4 separate regions of the Homo sapiens genome follow, and all the other regions are linked to region 1. The links are contacts of gene promoters, found by promoter capture Hi-C in human tissues and cell types (Jung and others, 2019). All regions are on one chromosome and are shown on one strand. Each heading gives the region's core, a stretch centred on a gene start or on the middle of the fragment in contact. The rest is flanking DNA. Distances are from core to core; before and after follow the strand shown. Region 1 holds the start of CACNG4 (calcium voltage-gated channel auxiliary subunit gamma 4). Region 2 overlaps HELZ (helicase with zinc finger). Region 3 overlaps PRKCA (protein kinase C alpha). Region 4 overlaps PRKCA (protein kinase C alpha).

Region 1 (2,973 bases), core at 197-2,696:
ATCTATTCCTCCCAATCAGACTATAATTTTCCAAGTGGCAAGAAACAACTCTCACTCAGCAAACATTTGCTAAGCCCTTACCATGTATGCCAGTCACAGGAAAGGCTCACAATCTTGTGGGACAGAGAACAGTGATTTCAACACGGGGAGTGGGGACCAGGGAAGGTGCCACAAAGAAAGTTAAGCTTCGTCTTGCAAGAATAGCAGCACTCCCTATACCTTTTTCCATATCCTGGGGTCCAGTGCAGCCAGGGATGCCAACAACAGGACCACCTGGACATGTCAAAGGGTGCTGCACCTCCTGATGCTGGGCTCTGAGAACCTCCTGGAGGGAGGGGTTTGGAGCTGGGTCTGGAAGGAGGAGTCCGGACCGGCTCCCTGGAGAAGGGAGTGTGTCCAGGTTGGGATCACGGCCAGCAGCAAAGGCAATTAAGTGAAGCCAGCAGGGGTTGGGGTCAGAGGCTGACAATAAAGGCCAGGGGAGGGAAAGCCGGTTAAGCTCGAGCAGAGCAAAAGGCAAAACGAAATAAAGGCATTGCGAAAGGTTGGGAGAGAAAGGGAAAAGGCTGGCGGGTGGAGTGTTGGAATCTAACACAACTGGAGTGTCCCTGGACTCTAGCAGTAATAGACCCTCAGAAATGTGAGCACAGAGGAACGCCCCATCTTCAATCTCAGCCTTGCCACCACTCTAGAAAGCAGAGACCCTGTGTTCTCCCCAAAGGACTTCTCGCTGTCATCGCCCTTCTCCCTCAACCCCAAGTCAGGGTCCTTCCAGGCCCTGCAAGGGGATCTGGAGGAGCAGGAACCACCTGGGTTGGGGTGGGGCCTGGCCCGGGCCTGGCGTGGCTTGCAGGGTCTGGCAGCTGTGTCCCACATCTGGGGTTTCAGGAATTCTGACCTGAACACGCACTCCCACACTCACCTTCATCACCAGGTGAACAGGCACAGAGGGGAAAGGAGGGACACACCCACCCACGCCCTCCTCCACAAATTAAAGAATCCGCAGGGCCGTCGGAGGGGAGGCTGGATGTCCTGGGCGGGTAAGAGAGGTGGCTGGAGACGCGCTTTCCCTTCGGTCCTCCTGGGGAACACTTCCCTCGGCTTCCTTCACTCCAATAATGTGAATGAACTCTGGGAGAGAGAGAGAGCGCGCGCGGGCGCGGGGAGGGGAGGGGAAGGGAGGGGAGGGGAGGCGAGGGGAAGGGAGGCGAGGGGGAGAAAATCCTGGCTGGGGAGAGAGGGGAGCTCAGAGGAGCGCACAGCCGGGCGGGGGCCGAGGCTCGAGGGGCGGCGCCGAGAGAAACGGGGCGCGGACCCGGAGCGCGGCGGCGGCGGGGGAGGCGCGGAGGGCGCAGGGCGGAGGCGCGGGCCGAGGGGGGAGGGCGAGCGGAGAGGGAGGAGCCCCCGGCCGCCGCCGCCAGCCCGCCCGGCGGCCGCGCAGCCCGCACTCGTCGCCGCGCCTCGGAGTTTGAGCCCCAGCGCTGCCGGAGCGCAGGCACGCCCGGGGCGCGGGGTCGGAGCGCGCAGCGCGGCGCCGCCCCCCGGCCCTCGGCCCCCCAACCCCGGCGCCCCCGGAGCGGCGCGCGGAGGGAGGAGGGCGGGCGGGCGCGGCGGGCCGGGCCGGCGGGCGGCGGACTATGAGGCGCCCACCATGGTGCGATGCGACCGCGGGCTGCAGATGCTGCTGACCACGGCCGGAGCCTTCGCCGCCTTCTCGCTCATGGCCATCGCCATCGGCACCGACTACTGGCTGTACTCCAGCGCGCACATCTGCAACGGCACCAACCTGACCATGGACGACGGGCCCCCGCCCCGCCGCGCCCGCGGCGACCTCACCCACTCTGGTCTGTGGCGGGTGTGCTGCATCGAAGGTACGGCCAGCCCCGACCCCTCGCCGCCCCACACACACACACACACACACACACATATACACACGCGCGCGCGCGCGCGCGCACACACACACACGCGCACACACTGCCCGGCGCGCGGGCCGGGGAGAGGGTGGGCGCGGCGCTGGCTCCGCGCGAGACACAAAGGAGCCGGAGCTGGCGGGCGGGTCCCTTCGCGGCCAGCTGTACATCAGCTCTGGTCCCTCTCGGCTGGGGACCTCCCCAGCACACCGATCCCACAAACTCTCCACGCGCACACCCCCTCGCCCACAGACACAATGAAACACACCGAAACTCAAGCACGCGCGCGTAGCCCGGGACCCGAGCGATCCCCAGGGGCCGCGCCGGCACCCCCGGGGGAGGTGGAGGCTGGCGAGGGGGCGGGAGGAGGCTGGGGTTGGGGGGAGCGGACGGGAGGGGGGGAGGGGTTGCTTGGCAACCGGTGTCTGTGCTATTGCTATGGGAACTGGCCATCCTGGGGCGGGGCCGGCCGGGGGCGGGGCGCGTCGGTGCCGCTGGGCGCTTTCTACAGGCTCGGGCTGAGGGGTGGGGGCAGAAGTAGGGGCAGAAGTAGGGGCGGGGGCGCGGTCGGAGCCGGGGTAGGGGCTGAGTTCCTAGCGGATCTAGGGTAGCTGGGTAGGCCCAGCCCGACGCCCGCCTCGTCTCCCACGGAGTCACCGGCCCGCTCCTCGCTGTGCGGTGGGGTGGTAAGGGGAGCGACACCGAGTCTCCCCCAACGGAGACAGCGACCTCGGTCGCGGCCCCTCAGCAGGGAGGCTGCGGAGACCTCAGTAGGAAACTAGGGTGTGCAGGACCGATCTGCGGACCGGGAACAGACTGGGAGGGGCGTGGTCATCTCGTCGGAGCTGGGCGCTGCGACCCCCAAATGCGACTGGAGGCTGAGTAGTAGGTGTCATGAGGCTGGAATGCTAGGGGACCAGGATTTCAGCCCCGGGACCGTGGGGACAGCTCCCTACTGGGGAGGGGCCTGGATGCCTCCAACGCCAAAATGCGCTCGGCTTCGGCGCCTTCCGGGCGCCCTTCTGCCCGGCTGCGGAACTTGAACTAACAGGTGGCTGGGGAG
Region 2 (2,700 bases), core at 31-2,530, 190 kb after region 1:
TATTTTAACTATTTATGCTAACAAAAAACAGTGAATTGCATACTTATAACAGGAATTCAAAGGTTATTTTCATTTTATTTTAGAATATATTCTTATACCTATACTTAAGTAGACCTCTGTCTGAGGTTCTGGAAATTTAAGAATAAATTTAAAGTTTGAACAACTGGAAAGTCTTAAGTACTTCCATTATTTGCAAAAGAAAAATATTAATAGGCCTCACGCAATGGATTATTAAAATGACACAGAAATGACTCATCCATCCATCTACTCATCCACCCACCCATCTCTAACCTACCCATGTAACAAAGATTCATTAGGTATCCACTATGCTCCAGCACACAGGCAGATCACATAGGGCTTGTGAGCAATCCTTGGGTTTACTCTGAGTTTGATGAAAAGCCAACAGAGAGTTCCAACAGGGCAGTGACATGACATGACTTATTTTGTTAAAGGACTATTCTGTTTCTCTGGGCAGAACATATATGGTGGGGGTGGATAGCGGTGTGCTGGTAAATATTTTAACACCCGGCTCCAGGGCTAGGAAGGGGAGAGGATTCCGGTTTGTAGTGTTTGCTGATTTTTGTGGTGTAAAACTGTCATGGTAATTTCAAGCTACCAGCATTTCACTGAACATGAACCTGAGAAGTCGTACACGTGATTAGCTCTAACAAACCAATACAAGTTGGCTCCAACACAACACTGAGCGGCACGGAGGAAGGAGCAGAGGGTAGAAGCAAGGAGACCAGTTACAAGGTTACTGTTAAGAGTGCAGACAAGAGCAGATGGTAGCTTGGATTAGGCCAACAATAGAGATATGAAAATGGTCAGATTCACTAGGCATTTCGAGAGTAACGCCAACAGAATTTACTGATGAACTAGAAGTGGAATTTGAGAGAAGGAATGATTCCACGCCTTTGAAACTGGATAAATGGTGATGGCGTTTGCAAAGGTGGTAAAAAAGAGGAACGGATTTGGGGTGGGAATTCAGAATTTCGTTTTGGGCATATTCAGTAGATATCCAAGTGGATATATCCAGTAAGCAAGGCAATACATAAGTTTGGAGTTCAGGAGAATGCCTGGGGCAAGATAGCTACAATTGGGATAATACTAAACCTTGAGACTAGATGAGATTACCTAGAAAATAAGAGTAGATTTAAAAAAAAAAAAAAAAAACAACTAGTGGAAGGAAGAATGACTGATGGACCTCTCCAACATTCAGAAGCTGGGAAAGGAGCCTGGGAAGGAGCAAAGAAATAGGAGAGAATTCAGGAGAGCATGGGGTATTGGAAGCAAAATGAAGCAAGTGTTTCAGATAGAAATAGGAGTAACTGTGTTAAATGCTGCTAAGAGGCTACGTAAAATGAAGACTGACCACAGGACTTAACAACAAGGAAACCAATATGATGAACCTCAATATGATGGTTTTAGTGTAAAATTACAGATGGAAATCTGATTAGCTTGAGCTCAAGAAAGAAAGAGAAGAGAGGAGGTAGTGCCAGGGAGTATATATAGACAACTGTCTGGATAAGTTTTGCTTAAAGGCTGATGCAGGTCGGGTGAAGGTGAGTTTTTGTTTTGTTTTTTTAAACAAGACACAATAGTATATTTTCATGCTGTACAAAGAAAAAAGTATGCAGGAAAGAAGAAGCTGTGTATCCAGGAAAGGATGAGAGCTCGTTCACAAGAGGAGAGGTTGGCCCCTAGAAAAGAACAGTTTAGAATGGGAGGGAAAGTAGTTACTAAGGAGATGCAAGTCAGATGCTCTATCAAAGGGAAGATGTGGGCATTCTCTTCTGATGGCTTCTACTCCGTCAGTAAAATTACAAAGATCATCAGATGATTGTTATTTTCATCACTATTATTCCTCTTCCCTAGTTAGGAAAACCAAAGCCCAAAGGGCTTACAGCCAGGATTTAAACCTGTTCTTCCCCTCTCTAAGCTTCATTTCTTATTTCCAAAATGAGTATAATAATTCAACTTCTTAAGGATTTGGGGAAATCAAATGAGATAACAGATGTATAATATGTAGCATAATGCCTGGCACCAACAAACAGAAGCCCCCCCACTTCCCTTCACCCACAGCAAAGCTGAAACTAAAATCAGCATTTCTAAACACTCAGTTAATATTCAATGTACACTGCACAAATGCAAAAAGGTAGCATCATGATATGAATATAGGCAATCAAAATAATTATTTAAAAGGTATGTTGTTTACTCCATCTAAAAGCACATATTGTGCAAAGTATTTTATTTAATAAGTCATCATATGGAACAAAAGGATAATTTCTACTCAGCTTCCAAAAAAGTTTAAGAGCAAAATCTGGTGCTTAATTGGCATGCCTTCAGTTAGTCTAAAATTTTGGTAATAATTTCCTTTTCTCAAAGAGCCACCATTTGTTACTAGGCTCTTGTCTCTTACTTTGTATTAATGTTTCTCAATTTTATGGCCTCTGCACATTTTACTAGAGCAAACTTAAATTATTTTTGGAAGCAAACCAAAAAGGTTTTTAAAAAGAGTAATTATTAATATTTTGGCCAGGCGTGATGGCTCACGCCTATAATCCAAGCACTTTGGAAGCCTGAAGTGGGTGGAACACTTGAGGCCAGGAGTTCAAGACCAGCCTGGCCAACATGGCAAAACCCCGTATCTACTAAAAATACAAAAATTAGCCTGGCATGGTGGCAATGCACCTGTAGTCC
Region 3 (2,935 bases), core at 201-2,700, 190 kb before region 1:
TGGTGTTAAGGCTTGACTGACATCAAAAGAGTGGTTTATTATTTATTTAGTTCCCCTCCCCCCACCCCAAATCAAAGCATTCCTCTTAGGCCAAATACGTCCGGGTGTAAACACAGAAAGGCAGTTCGTACACAGTCACCATCAGTGAGTCAATGGCTGGAGAAACAGGAGTTGTCTGCTCCTCAAGTTAATTTCCCCCTCTTTAAAATTTTTACAGTAAAATTCGGCTCTGAATTACAGGCCCCCTAAGAGTCCTGCTTTTCATGAAGTCACAAAAAGCCAAGTCCCCCTCTTGATCCCACTTGAATGTTCAGCTCTTGAGTCTGGAAAACAAACCCTGCTTTCATTAAGAGTCACATTTGCATATGCTAACATGCAAAAGGGGCTGGGCGGAAACGAAGCCAGGATCTGTTTCCGAGGGCGCTTTACAAGAGGTCACGTGAGTAGACTCTTGGCCAGCAGGAGACAAGAATTTCAGAACCCAGGTCTGCAGGAAAGTCCTCCTCCCTCCCGCAGCCTGGCTTCTCCCCTCTCCAAGCCTTCCTGGGATCTCATTCACTAGGGGAGAACTCAGGGAATGCTTTCTTCTGGCAGAGAAGTCCCCTTTGGGGGGTGCATTTTGAAGCTCTGCCACACTGGCCTCAGACCTCATTTGCAAATTGGCCTGAGGTGATTTACAGGCCTTATTTAAAGGTTTCCCTACTAAGCTCACGCCCCCTGGAGAGCACCAGGCTCCAGCTCTCAATAGTTCTGCAAACTTTCTGGCCTGTTTCCAATATTTCCCACACTGCTTCTCAGAGCCACTTAGCCTGCCTTATATGCATACTTTCAGGTCTCCATCATCTCTATTAAAAACGGTGATGGCTGGGCCCGGTGGCTCACACCTGTAATCCCAGCACTTCGGGAGGCCGAGGCGGGCGGATCACGAGGTCAGGAGATTGAGACCATCCTGGCTAACACAGTGAAACCCCATCTCTACTAAAAATGCAAAAAAAAATTAGCCGAGTGTGGTGGCGGGCGCCTGTAGTCCCAGCTACTCGGGAGGCTGAGGCAGGAGAATGGCGTGAACCCGGGAGGCGGAGCTTGCAGTGAGCCGAGATCGCGCCACTGCACTGCAGCCTGGGCGACAGAGCGAGACTCCATCTCAAAAAAATAAAAGAAAAAAAGAAAACGGTGATATTCTTTAAAGATGACACCTTAGACCAGGTGCAGTGGCTCATCCCTTTGGGGCCCTTGGGAGGCCAAGGTGGGTGGATCACTTGAGTCCAGGAGTTCGAGACCAGGGCAACATGACAAAATCCCGTCTACAAAAGATGCAAAAATGAGCTGGGCGTGGTGGCAAGTGCCTGTCATCCCAGCTACGTAGGAGGCTGAGGTGGGAGGATTGATCGAGCCCGGGGGGTCAAGGCTAGCAGTGAGCTGTGATCATCACACCACTGCACTCCAGCCTGGGTGAGAGAGTGAGACCCTGTCTCCAAAAAAAAAAAAAAAAACAACAACTCCTTAAAGGCACTCCACATTCTGGTGCAATGGCAGGCACAGATAACAGCCTTTGTTCCTCTAAATCTCCACCTCACCCGCCTCAAACACAGTGTTTTCATTCAAATCCCCTTCTTCATCTTTCTCTCTGACTCCTCAATGCAAATTTAAATGTATTCCTAGGCTGTCACTCAGCTCAGAAAGGATAATGAAGGCTCTACCCAGTATTATCCACAGCCCCTCCAAGCTTCAGCAATCCCAGAGACCCAGCAAACGGAATAGATGTTGTTATTGAAAAGTAAGATTAATGATAAAGTCGTTGACAGGGTTTTGGTCTAAGTTTGTCCTCTTTAATCGCAGAGGGCTGAAGATGAGCAGGAAAAAAATAGTTTATTGCCATTTTCTTCTCATTTGCTTTATTTATTGTCAGCAGCCAAGGGGGCAGTTAAGAATAAACAGCCTCAGTCTTTATTCAGTTCCTGGACTGCTTGACAAATACAATCACTTTTGGGGCATAAATAGTGTTTACCCAGCACTCTAATGAGCACCTTGTGCCTGCAAGTGTTCTCGGTGATCGTCATAAAGGGACCAGCCCTCTCCTTATGCCCTTTTCTCCCTGGGTTATTTATGCTTTGATTTCACTCCTACTGAATCAGTAATCGCCACTTCATCTTAACTTCGGCCTGAATTGTCCAGGGGAGCATGCCTAGCCCCCAGCCCAGGTTTCCGTGATTTGCAAATAAGCGTGGCCTCCATGACCACTTCCTAGCTGAGATCACACCAGTGCAGTGAGGTGGCTCACAGCTGTGATTAGGAATCCTTTTTTGCAAAATGTGAACCATCACTCCTCATGTGTTGGTTTCCACAAATCACATATTGTTAAAGTGGGAAGGAGCGGGTGAGAGGGGATAGAACCCATTCAGAAAATGTTTACACCAACCCAAGACTTTTCAACAGGTAGCTTAGCCTGGAACATTGAGTCCAAATTTGTAGAAATTAAAAACCATGGGAATGGGGGAAAGAGGCGAGAGAAGGCATCCAAAATGGTAATGTACTAAAGCACCTGAGTGACACGTTACCCCCATGGTCCCCAGGCTAAGTGGCTGGCAGTACCAGAAAGGAAAAGGAATAGAATTAGTAACTTTTCACCGTTCCCTTGCCTTCAACGCCAGGGCCTGAGAGCGAGTGATTACCTGTCAGATGCTCCAGGGAGACTTGAGCCTAGAGAGACTTAACAAAGGCCGTAAATGTGTTCACATTTTTTTAGGCTGCAGGATGCCACACCTGGGACGTTATTATGGGGATGTGATTCAGAGAAGAAAACAATGATATGCACAGGTGTCTCTAGTAGCGTTAGTGATGAGGGTACATGCTGGAAGCAATTGTAAATGTGCCATGGAACAGTGGATCTGTCCTGATGACGCATCACCTCAATGGCATTCAACTCATGGGAACA
Region 4 (2,829 bases), core at 185-2,684, 220 kb before region 1:
AGCCCTCTCATGGGTTATAGGGTCACTGGCGAATCATGAAGTCAGTGCATGGTCACAGCCACTAAATGGACTAAACTGGACAAAACAGACTAAAATAGAGGAAATAGGAGAGCCCATTGCACATAGTAAGGTTGTGTCTTGCTTCCTGGAACTGTTGTTTGCTCCATGTGAGCCAGTTGCTTGGGAAAATGTATTTGTTACATGGTCATGGTCAAAATCATTTAAGAAACACTGTTGGCTGGGCGCGGTGGCTCACGCCTGTAATCCCAGCACTTTGGGAGCCCGAGGTGGGTGGATCATAAGGTCAGGAGTTCAAGACCAGCCTGGCCAACGTGGTGAAACCCCATCTCTACTAAAAATACAAAAAGCCAGGGATGGTGGTGCACACCTGTAATACCTAGCTACTCAGGAGGCTGAGGCAGGAGAATCTCTTGAACCCAGGAGGCAGAGGTTGCAGTGAGCTGAGATCATGCCATTGCACTCCAGCCTGGGTGACAGCAAGACTCTGTCCCCCCAAAAAAAGAAATACTGTTGAGTGGAGGGAATTACTTGTGAAAATACTCTGCCTGGAAGGCGGGGTGAGACGGGGGTTGCAGTGATGGTGTATTAGCAGCATCGCGGTGATGACTGTTCTAAACTGCATGTTGTCTGGTCTAGGAAGAATGTGTCAGTGTGGTTCTAAGCAAAATGGTTCCAGGACTTGTATCTTGACAGCAGCGGCTGTGCTGCTCTGCTTTTGTTATAACACTTACAGAGGATTTTTTTTCCTGTTTTATGAAACATCCCACATGCCAATGATAGAATGGGTTGTCACTGTAGTCACTGTAGAGCCAACTTTCCATCCACACACAGTCCTATGGATGCCACAGTTTTTTCCCATCTGTACCCAGCATGGTGGAGACCAATGGATCCAAAGCTGAGCTGGCTTCAGCTCTTCACAGAGCCCTCAGATGAGCTGTTGGCAGCCGGTCTCACATTTATTCAACAGATTACCCCATGCATTTATCTCAGAGACAGTAGGGATAGTGAAAAAGGCACCCACAAGCTCAGAAGTCAGACCCATGTGAGCTTCAATCTGGAATCTGTTATTTACAGACTGTGGGAACTCGGGTGAGTTACTTAACGTCTCTGAACCCCGTTTCTTCAGCGGCACCTTAGGGATAATATCCTCCTTGTAGAATTGCTGTGTGGACTGAAGTGCCTAATACAACATTTTGCATCTAGTAGACCCTCCATAGTCATTATTCCAAAAGGGAAGCTGCTTTTTATTCCTTTGTGAAGACCTTGTAGTTTTATGATATTTCAAGACAGCGTGGACACATAGACTTCATTTAGAAACTTAAATTCTGAATCGCATGGCCAGAGGTGATATGTGATCTTGCTGCATAACTTACTGGGATTTTCCCCCAAAAGAACTCCCTCATTAGTACCTACAGACATGAGGTGAAATTAAATAGTCTTATTTTTCAAATATGAGGAATAGTCAGGGTACTGTCAGAAATACAATCTCTTGATGTAGTATTTATTCTGAAGCCTGTTACTAAATGACAGGTATTAAGCAGGCTGTGATTATGAGCCATTCAGCCTTCATTGAACAATTCAGCAGATGATGTAAAAGCTTAGTGATGGGGAATGGCAGCTTTTTTAGGAATAAAGGTGGCATTGAACCTCATCTCTATTAAGACCAGGTCTCTCCTGTTCCGACAAATAGCTCCTTGTGTTCAGTAACACCTCAGCTATCTAATAACACCAGGAACAACAGTGTCCAGTAGAGACAAAATTTTCCATATCATTAAGGTTTGTCCATTTGAGTGTCTTGTCTTTTTTTGTTGTTGCGGTTCGGTATCATTCACGGTATGAGTTCCTGTTGCCACTGTAACAGATAACCACAAACTCAGCAGTTTAAAATAACTCAGATTTATTATCATGTGGTTCCGGAGATCAGAAGTCCAAAATCAGCCTCACTGGACTAAAGTCAAGCTGTGGGCAGGGCTGGTTTCTTCTGGAAGCTTTAGGGGAGAACCTGTTGCCATCCATGCCTTTTCCAACATCAAGAGGCCACCACCTGCATTCCTTGGTTCGTGGTGTCTTCTTCCCTCCCCCATGCAACGTAGCATCTTCCAATCTCTCTGTCTTTTCCAACTACAACCCTCCAGCCTCCCTCTTCTCCTACAAGGATCTTTGGGATTATATGGGGCCCACTTGGATAATCCAGGATCATCTCCCTAGCTCAAGATCCTTAATTTGCCTCTGCAAAATCCTTTTTAATGCATAAAGGTAATAGATTCACAGGTTCCAGGGATAAGGATGTGGACATCTGTTGGGGAGAGGGGACTTAGTCTATCACACTTGTTATATGTTGGAGAACCTCCTCACTGTCCTCAACAGGGACACCTAAACACACTTCTGTCATGTCTTGGTAACTTCGGGCCTCTTCATACACAGAGAATACTCTGTTCTTGCTCTAGATACTTTCACATCTGAAGCCTTCATTCCCCTCCTTACATCTACTGTACAAGCAATAATAGAGGAAGTGACCACCTTCTATTGTCTACCGTGTGCCAGGCACATGATAAACTTTCTCTTGGCTGGGCACAGTGGCTCACTCCTACAATCCCAGTGCTTTGGGAGGCCAAGGCAGGTGGATCAATTGAGGTGGAAGTTCAAGACCAGCCTGGCCAACATAGTGAAACCCCATCTCTACTAAAAAATACAAAAATTAGCCGGGTGTGGTGGCAGGTGCCTGTAATCCCAGCTGCTCAGGATGCTGAGGCAGGAGAATCGCTTGAACCTGGGAGGCAGAGATTGCAGTGAGCTAAGATCGTGCCA

The links. Contacts are between HindIII fragments. The study calls those that stand out against the background at their distance.
Region 2: a fragment that was not itself captured here is called in contact with the fragment with the promoter of CACNG4 in region 1 in 2 of the 25 tissues and cell types used here (H1 embryonic stem cells and bladder).
Region 3: a fragment that was not itself captured here is called in contact with the fragment with the promoter of CACNG4 in region 1 in 2 of the 25 tissues and cell types used here (H1 embryonic stem cells and IMR-90 fibroblasts).
Region 4: a contact is called between a fragment that was not itself captured here and the fragment with the promoter of CACNG4 in region 1, in 2 of the 25 tissues and cell types used here (H1 embryonic stem cells and mesendoderm cells).

The regions. Positions count from the first base shown.
Region 1 is chr17:66,963,261-66,966,233 of GRCh38, forward strand. CACNG4 (calcium voltage-gated channel auxiliary subunit gamma 4) reads left to right here and starts at 1,447. Exons shown (of 4, transcript NM_014405.4): 1 at 1,447-1,871. The coding sequence starts at 1,652. The HindIII fragment of the contact is 19,073 bases long and covers 1-2,973 here.
Region 2 is chr17:67,151,613-67,154,312 of GRCh38, forward strand. The region is part of intron 17 of HELZ (helicase with zinc finger); the gene reads right to left. Among named protein-coding and RNA genes, the nearest start is that of HELZ-AS1, 92 kb to the right of the region's middle. The HindIII fragment of the contact is 4,410 bases long and covers 1-2,700 here.
Region 3 is chr17:66,777,370-66,780,304 of GRCh38, forward strand. The region is part of intron 14 of PRKCA (protein kinase C alpha); the gene reads left to right. Among named protein-coding and RNA genes, the nearest start is that of MIR634, 8.2 kb to the right of the region's middle. The HindIII fragment of the contact is 5,157 bases long and covers 1-2,935 here.
Region 4 is chr17:66,742,813-66,745,641 of GRCh38, forward strand. All of the region lies in intron 13 of PRKCA (protein kinase C alpha), which reads left to right. Among named protein-coding and RNA genes, the nearest start is that of MIR634, 43 kb to the right of the region's middle. The HindIII fragment of the contact is 3,364 bases long and covers 1-2,829 here.